Regions from separate parts of the Homo sapiens genome. Here regions 2 and 3 are each linked to region 1. The links are contacts of gene promoters, found by promoter capture Hi-C in human tissues and cell types (Jung and others, 2019). All regions are on one chromosome and are shown on one strand. The core of a region is centred on a gene start or on the middle of the fragment in contact, and the rest is flanking DNA. Distances in the headings are between cores, read along the strand shown. Region 1 holds the start of FOXB2 (forkhead box B2). Region 2 has its middle 7.6 kb from the start of PRUNE2. Region 3 has its middle 62 kb from the start of VPS13A.

The links. The method cuts DNA at HindIII sites, captures the fragments that hold promoters and counts their contacts. A contact is called where the count stands out against the background at its distance.
Region 2: a contact is called between a fragment that was not itself captured here and the fragment with the promoter of FOXB2 in region 1, in 3 of the 25 tissues and cell types used here (IMR-90 fibroblasts, mesenchymal stem cells and spleen).
Region 3: a contact is called between a fragment that was not itself captured here and the fragment with the promoter of FOXB2 in region 1, in 3 of the 25 tissues and cell types used here (H1 embryonic stem cells, bladder and lymphoblastoid cells).

Annotation. Positions count from the first base shown.
Region 1 is chr9:77,017,565-77,021,685 of GRCh38, reverse strand. FOXB2 (forkhead box B2) reads right to left here and starts at 2,031. Exons shown (of 1, transcript NM_001013735.1): 1 at 733-2,031. The coding sequence starts at 2,031. The coding sequence ends at 733. The HindIII fragment of the contact is 6,747 bases long and covers 1-4,121 here.
Region 2 is chr9:76,911,616-76,915,736 of GRCh38, reverse strand. No RefSeq gene overlaps it. Among named protein-coding and RNA genes, the nearest start is that of PRUNE2, 7.6 kb to the right of the region's middle. The HindIII fragment of the contact is 3,388 bases long and covers 560-3,947 here.
Region 3 is chr9:77,113,692-77,117,812 of GRCh38, reverse strand. No RefSeq gene overlaps it. Among named protein-coding and RNA genes, the nearest start is that of VPS13A, 62 kb to the left of the region's middle. The HindIII fragment of the contact is 7,528 bases long and covers 1-4,121 here.

The sequences.
Region 1 (4,121 bases), core at 782-3,281:
TCCTATCCTTCTTGACCCCCAGGTCAGAGCCAAGAACCTTAGCTGTTTCCCAAAGATATTTCGTGGGGTTCCCGCTGCCTCCTCTCCTCCCCTTCCCCCTCCAAAGCGACTTTATTCATGACACCGTTTCCTTGCCCATTTAGCTGACTAGGAAAATAACGGTATCAAACGCTTCCTCTTTTCCTTCTTAAATAAAACGAAATTTCCTTAGTGGACGGCAGTTTTGTCTTGAATGTTCACGAGAGGCGACCGCCGAGGATGCGACCAGCAGAGAGAAACGTGGTGGCTGAGATCCGTTTCAGCGTCACTCTCTGTTGGATTCTTCGCGGGAGGTTTAGCTCTGCCAGCTTCTGCTCCCAGGAATAAGGGTCAGAATCGACTTCCAATTTACCAGCGAATGAGGCTTTCCTAACCTCCTTCGTTCCCTCCCCCCATAACTTATGGATTTATATTAATTACAATAGAAACTCTTACCTGAAAATTGGCTTTCATTAATCTGATTGTACAACATAGTATAAACACAGACACCAGGAAGGTTATATTTATTCAGACCACTGGAGAATCCACTTTTCGGGGTTGTTCGTCTATTTAAATACCTTCCGTTCCAGCAAAGGCTGAGACTCGCCAGCTCTGCCCGGCCTGACCAGGGCGCCCTCTCCCCGTCGGGTGGTTTGGGCGGTTCCGGGCCCGGCGTCTCTCACCCCGCTGGTCTCCCCACGCCCGCCGGGTCCCCTAGGAGTGCACTAGCACCGAGTGCAAGGAGCCGCCCTTGCTTTCGGCCGAGGTAGGGGCTGTGGGCTCCAGCAGAGAGGCAACGGGCGAGGCCGCGGCCGCGGAGCACACGGTGGATGGCGCCGGAGGCTGCTGCGAAGCCGCGGGGACAGTGAGCCCCGGCTGCAGCGCGGACACGGGCGGCAGCGCAGGCGTGGGCTTGATGGGCACCGGCATGGCAGGCAGGCTCTGGCTTGCCGAGTGGCACAGGGACTTGACCGGGACCCCGAAGGCCCCATACTCCGGGCCTACAGGGACTCCGGCTGCGGCTGCGGCGGCCGCGGCGGCGGCCACCGAATCCATGACGCCAACGTGCGGCCACACGGAGCTGACGACGTTGCCAAGCTGGCCGGGCACGGGGTAGCCCAGGTGGTGCATGACGGACGCCAAGGGCAGCCCTCCAGCCTGCAGCACGCCCTTGTAGTCCCGGCCAATAATGTTCTCAATGGCAAAGGGGTGCTTGAAGCCTGACGTGGACGCCGCGGCCGCGGCGGCAGCGGCGGCGGCCGAGCCCAGCCCGTAGGGTGGGAACTGAGACAGGCGTCCCACGCTGCCCACCGCGGCTGCCGCGGCCGCCGCCGCCGCCGCCGCCACGGCCGCCGCCTCCTGCATCTTGCCGGGGTGAGACGGCTGCTGAGGCTGCGACTGCTGGGGCGGTTGCTGCGGGGGCTGTGACGGGAGGTGCGGAGGCGGCTGCGGAGCAGTAGGCGGTTGCTGATGGAAATAGTGTACCATGTGCGGCGGCGGCGGGGGCGGCGGCGGCGGCGGCTGGGGTGGGTGGTGGTGATGGTGGTGGTGTGCGGCAGCGTGGTGATGATGGTGGTGGTGGGGGTGGTGGTGGTGATGGGGGTGAAGGTGCCCTCCCGGACCGGCGCCCGGCGCGCTCTTGGTGCTTCCCGCGTGCAAGTGAGTATGGTCGGCGCGCAGCACCTTGAAGCGCTTGCGACGCCGCAGGAAGCTGCCGTTCTCGAACATGTCCCCGCAGTCGGGGTGCAGCGCCCAGAAGCTACCCTTGCCAGGCTGGTCGGGCCTCCGCGGAATCTTGATGAAGCAGTCGTTGAAGGAGAGGTTGTGGCGCAGGCTGTTCTGCCAGCGCTGTGTGTGCTCGCGGTAGTAGGGGAAGCGCTCCATGATGAACTTGTAGATGTCGCTCAGCGGCAGCATCTTCTCGGCCGAGTGCTGGATTGCCATGGCGGTCAGCGAGATGTAAGAGTAGGGCGGTTTTTGGTCGCTGTACGAGCTCTTCCCCGGCCGCGGCATCGCCCCCGGCTCCTCCACCGCCCTCCGGCCCGCACTGGACCACAGAATCTCTCCGCACTCCGTTCCTGGGGCCTGGCTGCCCCCACTAATTCCCACTCGGCCCCTCCAGTCCCGCCACTTTGCCCTCTCGCCCTCCAGGCCCTCTCTGCTTCTCTCTCCTGCCTTCTCCGAATTGCCTGGTGTCTCCGACCTTGGCCTTTCGGGCCTACTCAGCTCTCGGAAGCTGGCAACTTCTGGCCCCGACGGTTGCCGACTGGCGCGCACAGTCGCGGGCGGAGTGCACCAGGTTTACCGCCGCCTTCTCTGCGTCTTCCCCCGGGTGGCCAAAGACTGAGTGCTGGAGCTGGCTGCAGAGGAGAGTGGCAAGGGGCCGTGTTTCCTCCCGGCCTCTTTGCTTTTTCTAGGTCCGAGGGAAACCCAGACCAAGATGGCTGGGAGGAAGGTCTGGGCAGTAGAGACTCTGGCCCTTTAAATCTGAGTTTGCGCCTGCTGTCCTGGAGGCCAGTGACAGCAGGACTTCCAGTGCCCTGGACGCAGGCCCCTGGCCAGGCACTTAGCCAGACCGCGCTGGAGTTCTCCTTTTCCTGGAGTGAAAAATCAGGGTAAGGAGAGAGAAGATTGGCTTCTAGGGCGCCTCTCTTTTCTCCGAGGCTCGCAGCGTCGCCGGGGTTAGAAGAGACGCGCAGCCCTAGGCTGTCGCTGAGGAGAAAAAACTTTGGTGGTTTCTGAAGCGGCAGCGCCCGCAGGTTCTGCTGAGGAGTGTGGGGCGCAGGACTCTGGGAGCGAGCGGCGGGCTGGAGAGGGCGTCTGCGAATGCTGGGTGAGTGCTGGCCGGGGAGGCTCAGCCGTCCGCGCCGCAGCTGCCGCCTTTCTCCCGGGCTTGTCTTGAGGAGGAGAGGCGACGGCAGTGGCAGCGACGCGCTCTCCTGGCTGCGTTTTGTAATGGTCCCCGAGACGCCGAGACCCCCGCAGCTAGCGCTTCGAGACTATCACATGACCGAGGCTGAGGGACTCAGCCGCCGCCGCCGCGTCTGTAGCTGAAGAAGGGGCAAGAAGGCGCCGTGCCTCGCCCCCGCCCCCTTTTCCACCTCGTTTCGGGCGCTCTCCACCCATCGCGTTCACCACTCGCTCGGCAGCCCCCAGCCACCTCCCGGTGCGGCGGGTGGCGCAGGCTGTTCGCCGGGAGGGGGCACAGCTCCGGGTGCATTTCCCGCAGCTGCGCCCCACCCGGGCCACCAAGCACGGTGGAGGGGGAACAGGACACTGCCTTCTTGCTTCTCTTCTCTCTGGCATCTCCCTCTTCCGCCCCCTTCCTTTTACCCTTCCCTGTTTTCATCTACTCGCTGTGAGCTTCTCTCTCCTTACAAACCCTTTTTCCTGGGCTAGACACTCTGGGTCAAGTTCAGAGTATCGTGTCCTCAAGGCCTCTTCTCTGCAAGAAACCCCGATGATTAGAGGGCTGGAGGGAAAAACTCATGGGGAAGAAAGCATGGGGTGTTTTCACCAAATGCCAAATTCATCTCAGTTTTATTGCGCGCCAACTGCATGTGAGGCACCAGGTGCAGGGAGACAGGAGACAGTATCCGAGCTCCACCATCGCGGTATAGAGGGTGAGACGAACAGTAACCAAGAAATTAATAGAATAGGCACTAAAGGGCTTGGCGAATGGAGGCTCCACCACACTTTCCTGGAGCGAGTGAGTTGGACAAGATGAGGTTTCTCTGGGATGGCGATGTCTGAGCTGGGGCCAGAAGTAAGAGTTGGGGATTCAGGGGTCCCATCACCTGTGTGTGCTGGAAGGAAATCTTTGCTATTCTTAGCACGGTGGTGTGGGGCCAGGGCGAGGCAGGAGGTGGAATGGAAATAATTAAATAGGAAGCAAAAATTATCAGTCCACAGGATCCTGGTGTGATCTGCGAGGGAGAGGTGGATGAACCCAGGAGTGAGGTCCTTCTGCTTGGAGGTTCCTGCTCTGCACTCATCCAAACACCCAGCAGGAAACCCCAGTTTACTGCAGGGAGAACCTGAAGTTGTATACTCGTTTTGGCTACCTTTGCCCTTCAGCTGGGAGGAAAAGCAGAGTTTAGAAA
Region 2 (4,121 bases), core at 1,004-3,503, 110 kb after region 1:
GTGTTTCCAGGTCTACTCTAGCCAGAGTCAGATTTCTAAAAGATGCTGTGCTGTCTTTGAATACGATTGAAAAATCACCATTTTAACCCCTTTATAGAACCTAATAAAGCATTTCAGAAGTACCTGCATTTCTTTTTATTTCTACCTGGTTGATGAGCCTCTCTCTTTCAAGGCTTCAGCTAGAGGAGAATTGATCAACACGTGTTATTATAATTATTTGAGGACCTACCATGGAAAGGGCACTGTGCTGGAAGCAGCTGGGGGAATATAGAGAGGAGTAAGACCAAAGCCCTGTCCTCTGGAGCCTTATGGTTCCACAGGAAGGAGAAGATGTGAAGACTCGTTACCTGAAGTTGACATTTGGTGGATGACACAGCATTCAACACAAAACATTTGCCATCCCCCAAAAAGCTGCCAACTGTTACTGGATGGCTTTGGTGATTTCCATGACATTTTTCCAAAATACAATGACTTTCCTCTTGTGGTTTTTGTACATCAACAAATCTTTTCAACTAACAACTACTGGGAAAAGTGAATCTATAGAAGTTTATTATTAAATAAACTAACATGAAAATGAGGCTGTTATAGCAGTATTGGAGTGGTAATAGTCCAGCCCTTCCCCAACTGCTGACTCCATATTTTAAAACCGTTTTTAGGATTTTTTTTCCCCTTCATTCACAGAAAGGAAGGTGACAGGGTGAAGGAGGTGGGGGTGGGGTGCGGGGGGCACATAGTAGAAGGAATCTGGAATCCAGAAGAGGTAGTATCGGTTTCTAACAACTTTCTGAGCTAAGTCTAGTGGAATATTAATGTGAATGAATCCTTGACAGAAACAGAAGAAATTGGGTGGCAGCATTTCCCAAGAGTGATGAATTGCAGGTGGTGTCTCCAGGGAGTAGGTCAATGAGAGTATGACGGAGATGTTTGCTGGGAAGCAGGTCCTTTGCTTTGCTGCCCAGTTTAAAGAAAATACAGCAAAGAAGCAAATGCTGTAGGTGGACACTGCGGCTCTGCGTTAATGGATTTGGATTTCCTTCTTCCTTTTCCTCTGGAACTTCAGTGGTTTTATAATGCAGAGATTTAGAGAAGGAAAATGCAGAGCAAATAATTTTTGCCCTCATTGAAATCGACAGTTTGTTGGACATTTTTAAATATCCAGTTTTTTATTTTACTGCTTTCTACACAATATTATTGAAAATACATTACATACTGAATTCAGTTTTTTCTAAGTGAAATATTGCCACTATATAAGAAGAGAGATCAATGGCCTTTGTTAGACAACAATTGAACAGCATCCTTTAGCCTGAAATTTGAGTCTTTCTTTCTTTCTTTTTTTTTTTTTTTTTGGTTCCAGGCTTCCTGTCATGAATAGAAAATTTCTCTGAGGACATTAGGATTTGATACCTAAGAAAACACATACCTCTAACAAATCTTGCTAATTTTTCTCTTTCCAGGCTTGTTATTTACATGTCTACATGTCTTAATTACTGACCTTTGAGTTGAAGTTCCTTAAAATACTTGATTACTTTTTTTTACAGGTGGATATTTTTATGCCATCTTAACATAATCCCTCTGTTCTACACAAACATCTAATGCTACAAAGATATTCAAAGACTTTTTAACAAAAATAAGACAATTTCTCTTGTACACTTTCATGTTTCTTGTGGATCTAAGAATTGTATGATTCCATTTTGTAATCATAGAATGTTAAGGTTGGAAACATCCACTCAAGCCTTCTGTTTCTCCTAGGACCCTAAGACCTGGAGATGCTAAAATCACTATCCAAAGGACTAACATCACTATCCAAAGGACTAAAACTCAAGCATTTAACCATCAGAACATAATAGTGTTCCACTTTTTGGGAAGGGGTGAGGTTCAAGAATGATGAGGGGAGAGATGAGGACGGGGGCTGGGTAAAGGAGAACCTGATGGGAAAGAAGCAATGATTTAGCTGAGCCATCATTGATGACAGGAGCTTTTAATGATGTGTGCTGATCAAGCTTCTGGGACATTTACCTCTTTCTTGCTGGTGATTTCTCTGACTCATCTGCAAACATCAGGTATGAGGTCTATGTGGCCAAGTAGGTGAAGGGGTGAAGAGGTAGGTGAAGGGGTGACCAGCTCATTCTTAACTGTGGCAGAGCAATTGAAAGTGCCATGTGGTGAGTACTCATTTCTTCTCCAGTCTCCACATTTGCTTTTTTGGGTGAGCAGCTGGGTAGCCCATGCCAGTGGACAGGCAGTGATGTGCAGTCGCTTAGTACCTGGGCTCTGGACCTGGTCACCTGCTTTGGCTACTTACTACCTGAGTAATTTTGTGAAAATTGCATCTTTGTACCTCAGTTTGCACATCTTTAAAATGAGGATAATAGTACCTGATTTATACATTTGTTATGAGGACTAAATGCTATTAATACACATAAAAAATTAAAGTGATATTTCATGCAAAGAAACTCTTCATAAACATTAGCCTTTTTGATGAAAAAGGCCTGAACTTTGGAATACAGAGTCTAGATTTCAATCTTCAGGCATGTCAGTAAACAATTTTGGGCCTGTTTCTTCAGCTCTAGAATAGGTTGGTTGCAGTTCCCATTGTTCTGGCCTTACAGCATTATTGCAAGGATGAGAGATCATGTTGGTCGACTCTCAGGGTGTGGAAATTATTAACATTCTACTTTCCTTGCCAAATACTTCCTCAGTGGAAATGCAGGATGGGATCATGAGTTAAAGTTTATACTGTAACTGAGAGAGCCAGCGTTGTTTTGAAGGTACTTGAGATACCTTTCTGCAGGAAGAGCGTGTATAAAACTGAAGCCACCTGAATGTATAGTGTGAGAGGAAGCTGGGACTTTAAGGCCCTATCTACATCTTTCCACAGGCAACAGACCTGAAAGTGGCAGCCACTGCCTTATTATTCTGATGACTCACAGAGCCGGAGTACTTCCTCTCTCCTCCACTGTCCTTTCAAATTAAATTCATTGCTCTTCAAGATGTCTGTGGTTCCCAGAAATGACGCAAGTTGTATGTACCCCGTTCAAAGCCTGAGCATTTGACTCTCAGGACATTCTCCCAAGTGGTCTGGGCCCTGCCACTTGCTAATACAGCTCTGACAATCTCAATCACTCCTCTTTTTCCTTTCTTTACAGAAACTCAGAGAAGACAATGGCTATATGGACTCCTTTTAAAAAAAGTCTTGCAAAGCTTACCTTAAAAAATTTGGATATTCTTGCTAAACCACAAAATAAAAAAAATAGTTAATTCCTCTTAATATTATTTGCTAACATGGATAGTATCTGACCACCCACAGGACAAAAAAACAGACATTTAACAGTTGCTTACAGGCTAAATGAGAGGCCCTAGTTAATGCACATTAGTCCTGTTTCTATCTCTTGTCCTTGAAATAAGCTTAAAATGCTTTTAAATTTAGTTCAAGTGTGAGATGCAGTTTCTTGAACCTCTTGTGTCACATGAAACAATTTAAAAGCAGCGAACATAACCCATCTGCACCAAGGAGAATCTACCTGTGAGAGGTGTTGTTGGTCAGTGAGGAAGCTAGCTTGGAAATGTGCCCAAATAGTGAATCAGCAGCTGCCATCCCAGCTACATTTCATTTTTAAAAGGATAGCATATGTCAGGTATTTTTTTTTTTTTTTTTTTGCCAACCAAGCTGATTTCTTCAGTATTCTGTTTTCCCTTGTTAACATTTCCCAGTATTTGTAGGGATGTTAGCATTTGATTCTTTAATGACAATCATGTAAAGTAACTAGGGCAGGTATTTATCTTCTATTTCATAGATAAGGAGATTAATAATAAATAACTTGCCCAAAAGTACACAGCAAGGTCTCATATCCAGATTTTCTGATACCATGCTGTGAGCACCAGGGAAGCTGGTTAAGATAAGGAAATCTTCAGATACCCCTGTGGTGGCACTGACAGTAATAGGTGTGCCATGAGATGGATGAAGAGCTACAGTGCTCCTGTGAGAGTCTACAGAGGAAAGATCTAGTGCCCCATGGGGGTAAGGAATGGTAATTTGGGGATACAACCCCTAAGCAAGTTATATTTCACTAGTGAGTAGTACAGGTAGATGTGTTATTGCTGAGAAACATCTGCAGTGCCTT
Region 3 (4,121 bases), core at 1,047-3,546, 96 kb before region 1:
GCAGATGTCTCCTTGAGGTACTGACTTCCTTTCCTTTGGATATATACCCAGAAGTGGGGTTGCTGGATCATAAGGTAGTTCTATTTTTAATTTTTTGAGAAACTGCCATACCGTTTTCTATAATGGCTGTACCAATTTACATTCCTGCCAATAGTGTATAAGGGCTCTTTTTCTCTCCAGACCCTCTCCAACACTTATCTCTTTTATATTTGATACTAGCCATCCTAACAGGTGTGAGGTGATAACCTGTTATGGTTTTGATTTGCATTTCCCTGATGATTAGTGATGTCGAGTACCCTTTCATATACCTGTTGGCCGTTTGTATATCTTCTGTGGAAAAATGTCTATTCAAGTCATTTGACCATTTTTAAATTGTGTTATTTGGGTTTTTTTGCTATTGAATTGTGTGCTATCCTGATATATTTATTTTATTTTATTTTATTTTATTTTATTTTATTTTATTTAGATGGAGTTTTGCTCTTGTTGCCCAGGCTGGAATGCAATGGCATGATTTTGGCTCGCTGCATCCTCTGCCTCCTGGGTTCAAGTGATTCTCCTGCCTCAACCTCCCAAGTAGCTGGGATTACAGGCGCCCGCCACCACGACTGGTTAATTTTTGTATTTTTAGTAGAGACGGGGTTTCACCTTGTTGGTCAGGCTGGTCTGGAAGTCCTGACCTCAGGTGATCTGCCCGCCTTGGCCTCCCAAGTGTTGGGATTACAGGCATTAGCCACTGCACCCGGCCTCCTGATATATTTTTTTACATTAACCCCTTGTCAGATATATGGTTTTCAAATATTTTCTCCCATTTGGCAGGTTACCTTTTCATTTTGTTGATTGTTTCCTTTGCCGTGTAAACGCTTTTTAGGTTGATGTCAAATCTACTTTCAATTTTACAAGTTCAAAAATTTTCCCTGAGAGAGACTTAATTAATCATGACATTTAATGTGAGTGTTTGAAAATCATGGACATTTTAGACATGGATAGCCTATAACGATGAAGTTATAGATGCAAAGCACCTGCTTAATGATGAGCTGGTGTACCAGAACAAGCCTGTGGATACAGAACAGACGGGCATTTTTAGAGCACCACAGGTCCAAATTCTGCTGTTGCCAGTAAGTAATATCCTGAGTATTTCATGTGCAAAGGAACATAGGCATTTTTGTTGAGAGGATAGCTAGCTTAATTGACATCACATTGACCTGACACCAGGAATCAGTGTAATATGGGTTTGATAAAAGCAGAACTGCAAGTCAAACTGAATCTTACTTTTGCCTGTATTCAGTTTTAGTACTACATAAAAGAAAAAAAAAGGACCAGGCGTGGTGGCTCACTCCTGTAATCCCAGCACTTTGGGAGGCTGAGGCAGGCGGATCACCTGAGGTCAGGAATTTGAGACCAACCTGGCCAACATGGGGAAACCCTATTTCTACTAAAAATACAAAAATTAGCTAGGCATGGTGACTCAAGCATGTAATCCCAGCTACGTGGGAGGCTGAGGCAGGAGACTCGCTTGAACCCAGAAGGTGGAGGTTGCAGTGAGCAGAGACCATGCCACTGCACTCCAGCCTGAGAGACAGAGCAAGATTCCATCTCAAAAAAAAAAAAAAAAAAGAATTTATAAAAATATAACCTGAAATATTAAAAAGTCCAATAAAGCATTTAAAAAGAGTTCAAATAAATTGCTGTATCAGAAGACAGAAACATCAAAAAATATTGCTATATTTTCTCACACATATTGCTTATTTAATCCTGCTATTAATCACTTCTAACCGCCACTGCTATCTAGGCTTATTGTTGTTTTGTTTAAATAATAGCATTTATTTAACATAAAAGTAAGTAGTACAGAACATATAATTTCAAATAAATACCATTTTTCATATTTTATGTTAAAGTAATAACACATTTGAGTATACTTATTCATTACATATTAGATTATTACATTTGGGTTTTTTTTTTAAATTCAGTATAGTTGTGTCCACGTTGGCCCTCAAAAAAGTTGGCCACTCTAGTAGCCAGGGTTCTTAGCTGTCAGTTCAGGGCTCCCAAAGTGCATGTCCCAACAGACAAGGATTCAGGGGGAAGCTGGACCTCGTTTTAGGATCTCACCTTGCAAATCACACATCATCACTCCCACCGTATCCTATTCATTAGAAGCTACTAAGTGTGGCCCACAATGAATGGAAGAAGAATTAGACTCCACTTTTTGATGAGGGATATGTCACAGTATAGGTATACTTTAAAACTATTTCGAATAATGAAGAACACAGTGACTCCCATGCACTTTTGCTAGGCAAACTGGTATATACTTTTTGGAGAGGAACTCGGAACTATCAAAATAAAAAACAATTAGGAGTTTAGGGTACGGATATACTTGCAAAACAATGCCAAACACACTAATTAAAACTTCCCCCACCCCTCATTCTGAAAACGTTCAAAACTATAGAAACCTATTGTGGTGGAGTAGAGATGGTCATAAGTTATTTTACACTCTTCTCATTGAGATGTGGGGTCCCTTTTTTTTCTTGGATCTGAACTACTGTGACTTCTTGAGCAATCTAAAATGGCAGAAGATTTTAGATTGCTCTGAAATCTAACTCAGAACTCTGTGACAGTTCTGGACCTAGCTCTCAAGAAGACTGGCTTTTTTAGGGGGTTTCCTGAAGCCCTGAGCCTCCATGTTAAGTTCCACTACCCTGGTGAAGAGGCTGATGAGAGACCCCAAGACTACCCAGAGAGGGAAAGCTCAATCCAGCCATCTCCACCAAAGCACCAGGCATGTTTTGGATTCTCTGAACCAGTTGTCCATCAGCTGTGTGAATAGCCAGTCACCAAGTGACTGTAGGTAATGCCACTTAGAGCAGAACCATCATCCAGTGAAAGTCCTCCCAAATTCCTGATCCATAAAATGGTAAAATATAATGAGTTTTTTTTTAAGCCACTAACCTTTGGGGTAGTTTGGTATGCAGCAACATACAACCACAATGCCTCCATACCCTTATTCATCAGTTGTTAACATTGTGCCACATTTGTGCCTCTGCCCTCTCTGTTGTGCTGAATCATTTGAAAGTAACTTGCTGATATCATGATGCTTCACCTTTAAATTCTTCAGTATGTATTCTTCACAGTCGCAATGCCATTATCACTCCCAAGATACTTAAGATTGACACAATAATATTCTTTTTTTTTCTTTTTTTTTTATGAGACAGGATCTTGCTGTGTCACCCAGGCTGGAATGCAATGCTGCAATTATGGCTCACTACAGCCTCAACTGCCCAGGTTCAAGCGATCCTCCCATCTCCCATCCCAGCCTCTGGAGTAGCTAGGACCACAGGTGCATGCCATCGTTCCCAGATAATTTTTTTTTATAGAGGTGAGGTCTCACTATGTTGCCCAGGCTGGTCTCAAACTCCTGGGTTCAAGTAATCCTCCTCAGCTTCTCAAAGTGTTGAGATTACAGGTGTGAGCCACTGTGCCCAGCAGACACAATAATATTATCCAAAATGTAATTAATATTCAAATTCCACCAATTACTCAAATCATGTATTTGTATAGATTTGTTTTAAAATCCAGAGTACAATCAAGGATTATGCAGAGGATTATTTAGTTGCCATGTTTCTTCAAGCTTGTTGAAATCCAGTACAATAAGCCTCTGGTTTTTTTTTACTTTCATGTTACTGATATTTTTGAGGAGCTCAGAGCAGTTGTCTTGTAGAATGTCACATCATTTAGATTTGTTAAATTATATCCTCACAAAATTATATTAGGGTTAAGTATTTTTAATGTGTTTTTAACTTTTAATTTGTATGGACACATAATAGTTGTATTTAGTTACGGGGTACATATGGTATTTTGATACAATCATACAATGTGTAATGATCAAATACAGGTAATTGAGATATCCATCACCTCAAACATTTATCATTTCTTTGTGTTGGGAACATTCCAAATCTTCTCTTCTAGTTATTTTGAAGTATACAATAAATTATTGTAACTTTAATGACCCTACTGTGCTACTGAACACTAGATCTTATTCCTTCTGCCTAACTAATTTGTATAGGGTTAAGCATTTTTGGTAAGAGAATATTACATGGCTGACAACATAGGTACTTTCCATTGCT